Regions from separate parts of the Homo sapiens genome. Here region 2 is linked to region 1. The links are contacts of gene promoters, found by promoter capture Hi-C in human tissues and cell types (Jung and others, 2019). All regions are on one chromosome and are shown on one strand. Each heading gives the region's core, a stretch centred on a gene start or on the middle of the fragment in contact. The rest is flanking DNA. Distances are from core to core; before and after follow the strand shown. Region 1 holds the start of HEG1 (heart development protein with EGF like domains 1). Region 2 overlaps SNX4 (sorting nexin 4).

Region 1 (3,900 bases), core at 664-3,163:
TTAAAGTGGGGTGGGATTGGGGGGTGGGGGAGGATTGGGGGGAGGTGGCAGGTACATGTTTACTCCTTGGGTCTTAGTAGAGAAGGCAGATTATCTCATAGGATCCCTGAATCCACACGAGAAGCCTGTAAGGGCCATTCTACCCTTAAACCTTTCCACTTGCCTGGGAGTGCAACCAGTACTATGTGACATGGTCTCCTTGGAGGGGAGGGAGTGGCAGTGACCAGAACCTCTGAGCACAGTCCTAGTCTGTTGGGGCTTGTCTGGCTGGGTCTGGGCAGCTGTGCAGTCCTGCCTGTTAATGTGAGAGCAGCATCCAGAGAAGTTAAGCTCAGGCCATGGGAGCAAACCAAGTCAGTTTCAGGGAGATTACTGTTTGGTACTTTCTTGGAGAGACCTGGAAGTTCTGTGTTAGAGCCCTGGAAAGCTGGTTTGTTTAAAAACAAAACAAAATAAAACCAAATCTTTACTCCTCATTCTCTCATTTAAGGTGAGTTTGTTTATACACAGCCTCCTTTATGTTTTTCTGCCAAATGACTCACTTGTACTGAGTCACCAGAAAGTGGGCCTAGGCCCATCTGCAGCTGCCCTGGACACTACGATCTCATTCTCCTGGAGGTGGGTCATGGAGATCTGGAGACAGAGAAAAAGAGAAGAGCAGAGAAATAGGATGGAGAGCCAGGCCTGACAGTGAGGTGCATACTCATATTTTCACGAGCATTTGGTTGTCAGACAGGGGCCCCCAACAGAACTCGCAAGAACCCCAAGGAGCTGCAACATTTGTTTCTGTTGCAATACTATTTGTTTCCGTTTGCGAATTATTGCAAACTCTGAATTAGGAGACCAGAATTAATAATATCACATGGTCATTCACAGATCAATCATTTCGTCTTCGGGTCTACCTTCAGAATCTTGAGCAAGTTATTTTCCCATTTGAGCCCCTCTTTCTTCACTTAATGAGGTGGCTTACAGTCCTAAACTTTAGACAGTTTATTATTCATTTACTGGGGAGGGAGAGGTTATGGAAACAAATGGAACTTTATTGACCAAGAAAATTTGTTTACATGAAATCTTTGAATCTTTCCCCATAGGTTTCCATTTAAAATTCTGTGTTCTCTGGGCATCATTTGGTTTAATTTGCGATCTGCAGTTCTTTTCCTGATGATGAGTTTGCCCTAGCCTGCCTGAATTCACAGTTTTCTTTTCCCTGCAGCCTGTTTGGGTGTCCTCGCGGTGACATCTCTGCAGAACTCTGGTGTGAGCCAAAGGCAGTGGTCGGATGGGAACGGCATCCAAGCTTGAGAGGGCGTGGGGGATACTCGGATTCTCGCGTTGGCCGGAGGGTGAGGTGTTAGGTTTGGCAAACACGAGCTCATCACCAGCCCTGGGGCCTGAAGAAGGGGAGGTGGGGGTGGGAGTGGGGACACTTCAAATCAATAACGGCGGTGACAGCGCGGGCTGGGTACCAGGGGACCGTTCCCTTTCTCTCTCCTATCAAAGCACTTGGGATAATCTAGTCTGGTGCTAATCACATTACCCAGGACCTGCTTTTCACCTACTTCTTGTGCGTTTAAGGAGTTGGGTAGGTGGTGCCCGATTCAGAAGACTCTGGAGCATGTGTGTGACAAAAGTTGCAGCACCGTGGCTCCGCTGACCTCATCCCGCTGTCCCGGGCCGGGCCGCTCTCCAGGCGCCCGGCCCCAGCCCCCTTCCTGCCCTCTCCCCGCCTCCGGGCCCGCCGCGCGGGGCCGGTGATGTCAACTGAGGAGGAGCCGCCCGCCAGCCAGCGACCCGCCCGGGCTAATTAGCATGTAGCGGCGCCGCGGGCCGCCTCCGCCCAGCCAGCCCGGCCCCCGGCAGCCCTCCCGCGGCTCCCGATAACTTTTGAGGCGGGGAGCGCGCTCGCAGCCTCACTCCGCTCACTTCCCCGGCCCCGCGCGGCCCCCGCCGCCCGCTGCCCGCTGCCCGCTGCCCTCGCCCCGCGCGCCGGGCATGTGAGCGCGGGCGGGCGCCGTCACCATGGCCTCGCCGCGCGCCTCGCGGTGGCCGCCGCCGCTCCTGCTGCTGTTGCTGCCGCTGCTGCTGCTGCCGCCGGCGGCCCCCGGGACGCGGGACCCGCCGCCTTCCCCGGCTCGCCGCGCGCTGAGCCTGGCGCCCCTCGCGGGAGCGGGGCTGGAGCTGCAGCTGGAGCGCCGCCCGGAGCGCGAGCCGCCGCCCACGCCGCCCCGGGAGCGCCGCGGGCCCGCGACCCCCGGCCCCAGCTACAGGGCCCCTGAGCCAGGCGCCGCGACACAGCGGGGACCCTCCGGCCGGGCCCCCAGAGGCGGGAGCGCGGGTGAGTGAGAGCCGGGAACCTGGCGCCTGGCCAGTCTGTGCTGGGGGCGTGGGCGCGCCCCGGGCTGCATCCCCAGCCGTAGGCCCCTCCGCGCGGCGCGACCCAGGGTGGGGGCTCCTCGCCCGGCGTGTGCGGGACCCTGAGGGTCGGCGGGTAGGGAGGGACGCTTTCGCAGTTGGCTGGACTGAGGGGTGTGACTATCCCGTTCTCCTCCAACCCTTTGGAAGAAAACTTATTTCCTATGGGGTACCCTGTATCTCTTCCACCCCACTTTAAAAAAAATGGAAAGGAAAGGGAAAAAGACTGCAAAGCATCTCTCCCACCTCCGATATCTGGCCAGCCGGTCCCCAGTTTCATTTTTTCCGCTATACAGAACTGGCCTCTCCAGGTACAGGGCTCGACTTTCTCATCTAAATAACTGATTTTTAAGGGGTTCTAGGACGGGATATTGTAAAGGACAAAGGATGTACGTAGTTTGAAACAAAACGCTCTACTGGTTCGACTTAAAAGCAAAGGAACGCGGTTGGGGTTGCATGGTTGAACCCCTGCAAGGCACAGGCTGATACAGGACCATCCCTGAGCCTCCTCCCTCCCCTTTCCTTTCCCAATGAACTGTTGCTCCGTGGTAGCCACCGCCTGTCCCACGCAGAGAGAAGGAACTGACCTCTTCTCCCTGCTACCTTTGTGTCCAGTTCTTTCTTATGATCTGGAAAAATATGCCACATACTGAGTGGAATTCTAACCATAATACCATTATGACCTTGGGACTGCTGTCTCTTTGCGCTCACTTTCTCCATCTGTGAAATGAAAGTGATGATCCCTGTTCCTTCTAGCCTCCTAGTGATGATGTGACAAAATGAAAGTAAAAATAAATGGAAAGTGCTTTGAACAAAGTCAGCAACGTGGTGGTGTTAGCCTTTGCCTTCCTGTGAGTGACACAGGGCATATGCTCTGTCCGGGCTATTCAAATAAGCTGGGTTGCTTGCAACACTGGACATTGATTTGGAGTTTCCCTGAAAGTTGAGTTTTTTGTCTGCATAATTGACAATTCATTTAAGTTTCTCATCTCATGCAGACTTTCTGGCACGTGAATTAGCTTGCTTCCTCCAACCTAGAGGTGCTTCTTAGAGTTAAATAAGAAAAAGTTTGGATTTTTAAAAATCAAGTTCTCCTGTAAAAACTCAATTTCATATTCAACAGTATTCCCATTATCGCAAAATGCCTTATTTTGTGAATTTTTAAATCACTGGCATAAGATTGAGAAACCGAGGAACAGTAAGAAAAGGGAGAGGAGAGATAAGCTTCTGAAGACGTGTAGGAGACACATCCCGGAGTGACTGTGACTTTAGATTACTTACAGCATACGCTGTTTTGCTAACTTCCACGGGAAGGAATCAAGAACATAAAACAACATATTTCCCGACTTTCTCCAACTAGGAAAGTAACTGAGGAACACTGTGTAGTATTTTGTGAGTTTTTCTAAACAGAAGGTGAACTGCAGAGAACTGAGAACATTTCAGAGGAGACACCCAAGAGCCGAAGGCAGATTTCTCTGGGTAGTAGTC
Region 2 (3,937 bases), core at 130-2,629, 420 kb before region 1:
AATTAAGATTGAGGTTAGAGACCATGAGTTTATGATTGCACCATAATGTATCTTTTAGCTCCTTAAAGTTTTTCCTGTTTTGTATTTTCAAAGTAGTTTTTCATACCAACAGATTTTTTTTACCTATCTCAGTTCCACGAGGTAAATTATGAAGTGTGATATCTTGACTTTCAAAATATCAACAGAAAATATCATTTTATTTTAGAGTTTTTTGGATTTATATTGGTGTGTAAATGTTTAAGGCCAGCATATGGTTAAATAGAATCAGTTTTGTTATTGTCGGGAACTACTGTTTTTTTCTTTCAGTTTTTGACTGCTTGTTTTCATTTGAAAAACGATGTTTTATTTGTTTCCTGTTTCAGGAGATTTACTGACCTTAAGCACTATAGTGATGAACTGCAGTCTGTCATCTCACATCTTCTTCGAGTCAGAGCTGTAAGTGGTCCCCAAAAGCTTTTTGATGCACATGCATAAGGAAGTGCTTCTCATGTAATCATTCTGTTTTCAAGTAGTAGGTGGTATTTACCATGAATAACTGATTTTTGCATTTGAATTTATATGTTCATCATCCAAACTGCACTTTTTAAAAAAATGTGCAATGGTTTCTGTCATAAACAACTCACTTAGCCTGTTTTCTCTCCATGGTTTGTAATAGAATAGTTGTTTTGGATGTTATCAAAAGGCCTGCCATTTCAGTGCTGGAATGTAAATAAGTGTAGGATTTTAGATCTACACATCATATTCTTTCATGTTTTTTTTAAAGGTCCGTGAAATAGTTTATAGGTGTTAGGCCATCCTGTGTCTGTGCTCTTAAATTCTACCAAATAAACTAATTTCAGATAATAGTCTGCCATGACAAAAGGGACTAGAAATCAAGGAATAATAATTATACTTAACCATATAGTTCAGCTGTAATAGGCAAAGAGGGAAATACTTCTCAGTAAATTAATGTACCTGGAAAATGTACCATCCGCTCTGGTCTCTTGTGGCAACCTAGAAGGAACCTTAGAACATGCCTGTGCCAAAGGCATTGAAAGAGACTAGGATACCAGGTAAGGTCACATTTTATGCTGATTGGAATCTGGAATCCTCTTTGTTGTTATTATTATTATTATTATTATTATTTTGAGATGGAGTCTCGCTCTGTCACCCAGGCTGGAGTGCAGTGGCACAATCTCAGCTCACTGCAACCTCCACCTCCCGGGTTCAAGCAGTTCTCCTGCCTCAGCCTCCTGAGTAGCTGGGATTACAGGCATGCAGCACCATGCCTGGCTAATCTTTATTTTTAGTAGAGATGGGGTTTCACCATGTTAACGAGGCTGGTCTCGAACTCCTCCTGGCCCCAAGTGATCTGCCCACCTCAGCCTCCCAAAGAGCTGGGATTATAGTCATGAGTCACCATGCCTGGCCAGAATCCTCTTGAAATGAAATATATTGCCTGGAATTTGTTTTAATAAGAGTCCACCGATGAGCAGTGGAGAGTGGGGGCAGTTTTAGGAGAAATGAGTTTGGCTATATAGTAATTACTGAAGCTGGGTGTTGAGAAATGGAGGTATATCCTTCTGTTCTATATGCTTTTTGTATGTTTCAAGATTTCCATGACAGTACAGAAAAAATACAATAAAGGAAAAAATTCTTCTGAAGGTCTTATATTGTCTTGATCTCCCGTTTAACTGTTCAAGAGTATCGTTGGACTCTTTGAATAAATTATAAGATACCTTCTCATAAAAGTTACCTGCGAGAATTATTAGGCTAGAGTCAAGAACTGGGTATTAGAAAGGACTGTGGATTAATGAGATAAAATTTGTGGACCTTTGGTTGCCTAGAAATTACCCAGACAAATTAGGCAATAGTTCTCGTGGGAGGTGCAGATGGGGGACAAACATTCAGAGAGTCTGCATCGTACCCTCACATTGCTTCTAGTTTTTTTTTTTTCTTAAGTGGTTTTTCAGCAACTTCTCTTTTCTTCCATGCTTAATATCTTAGTAGAGGATGAATGCTCAGCTTTTAGGAAGGAGGTTTGGTATCTAAAAGTACAGGGATCTAGAAAAGTTAGTGTTAGAATGACATTTTCCATCATATATTCTCTGGAATGCTAACCCTGTAAGATGTTCCCTACTGCAAACCGTATCTCCCTTGAGCAGTCATGATTCATATGTGGTGTTAAAGGTCTAAAAGGTCCTACAGAAAAAAAACTGTTAAATTTTATTGTCTCAGTGTTTCCCAACCTTACTTGATGATGGAACCACTTAAAAAAAAAAAAGAAAAGAAAAACATTCAACACTGCACAGACTGCTCAAAAAATACTTGGGGGCCAGGCACAGTGGCTCGTACCTGTAATCCCAGCACTTTGGGAGGCCAAGGTGGGCAGATCATTTGAGGTCAGGAGTTTGAGACCAGCCTGACCAGCATGGTCTTTACTAAAAATACAAAAACTAGCTGGGCGTGGTGGTGCATGCCTGTAATCCCCACTACTCGGGAGGCTGAGGTGGGATAATCGCTTGAACCCAAGAGGCAGAGATTGCAGTGAGCTGAGATCGTGCCACTGTACTTTAGCCTGGGAGACAGAGTGAGACTCCGTCTCAAAATAATAATAATAATAATAATAGTAATAATAATAAGAAGAAGAAGAAGGAGGAGGAGGAAATGACATCCTAGAGAAATTAGTTTAGAGGTCTGGGGACAACCTGTAAGAGTTTCAAGTAGGAGTAGGACTATGAACTTTGTCCTGAAAGCTGGTTCTAATGTAGGGGCCAGCATCTTGTTTCTGAAGGCCAGATGGGAGGTGTTTTCAGCTTTGTTAGCTTTATGGTTTCTGTTGCATCTATTCAGCTCCACTGTGAACCTGACAGTGCTCCAGTGAGACTCTGTTTACAAAACAAGTGGCAGACCTGTAGTGTGTTAACCCCTAGTCTAGTGGGTACGTGTTTCCTCAGAGCAGGCCAACAATAGATGGAAAACATTTTATGATCCTCATACACCTACTTGAAGTATTTGCAGTGGCGGTTCTGTCACTGTAAGATGAGATCTTGAAAGGGTTGATTTGTTCTATCATTAATGTCTAATTCCTCATACTCATGTTTGAGTAAGGAATCAGGGAGCTAATTTATCCTTAGAGCTTATACTTAGAAACTGTATACCAGAAATTTTTTCTAGAGCTTTTTGTAGGATGAGCCTTTGGTCTTCCAGTTTGTTTTCATAATGCTTTGGGGGAACGTAAAGCAAATTAATTACCATATTGAGGTTTTGTTTTAACTTGTAAAATTTCTGTGAATGGCTAGGCAGTACACATTTCAGTGATGTAAATTGTAATTCTGTTGTTATTAAAATAATGTGTTCGTTGGTTAGGAGTTATCTTTTGACAAAGTAGCATAGAAGTATATGCATGTATTCAGCATTTATATATAAAACTATATCTCAATAGAATTGAAAATGTATCCGTTCCCTTGGTTAATTCCACTTTGGGGATTTTATTATAAGGAAACAATCTGAGGGAAAAAGGCTTATTCTCAGAGATAACTTTTTATAATACTGAAAAATTAAGAATAACTGAATCCCAACAAGATTATTCAACAAGGAATGCTTGTATGTCTTATATACTACTTAGTGGAATTTTATGCAACTATTTATAGTGGTATTTATTAAATACCTGATGGGTAAGCATATTACCACTCTTGCTGTAGGCAATTTAAAAACAGTAATTAAAAACTTTGCAGAAAAAGAAGTACAAAAGTATAAGATATGATAAATATGGTAAGAGCACTGGTTTTAGTTTTAGGGGGATGGGATTTTTGGAGATTACTATTTTTCTTTTTTCTATTTCCAAGTTTATTGTAGTAAGCATGTTTTTTGTTTTTTGGGTCTATTTTTTAGATGAGGATATAACTTTGACCTAAAAGCAATTTCTATTAAATATTTATTTCAGAGAGTAGCAGAT

The links. Contacts are between HindIII fragments. The study calls those that stand out against the background at their distance.
Region 2: a fragment that was not itself captured here is called in contact with the fragment with the promoter of HEG1 in region 1 in 1 of the 25 tissues and cell types used here (aorta).

The regions. Positions count from the first base shown.
Region 1 is chr3:125,054,010-125,057,909 of GRCh38, reverse strand. It overlaps HEG1 (heart development protein with EGF like domains 1), which reads left to right and starts at 1,913. Exons shown (of 17, transcript NM_020733.2): 1 at 1,913-2,335. The coding sequence starts at 2,020. RefSeq lists an enhancer at 1,350-1,399 and silencers at 1,650-2,029, 2,110-2,199, 2,260-2,419. The HindIII fragment of the contact is 8,893 bases long and covers 1-3,900 here.
Region 2 is chr3:125,476,745-125,480,681 of GRCh38, reverse strand. It overlaps SNX4 (sorting nexin 4), which reads left to right. Exons shown (of 14, transcript NM_003794.4): 7 at 363-435; 8 at 3,926-3,937. Among named protein-coding and RNA genes, the nearest start is that of SNX4, 41 kb to the left of the region's middle. The HindIII fragment of the contact is 3,256 bases long and covers 1-3,007 here.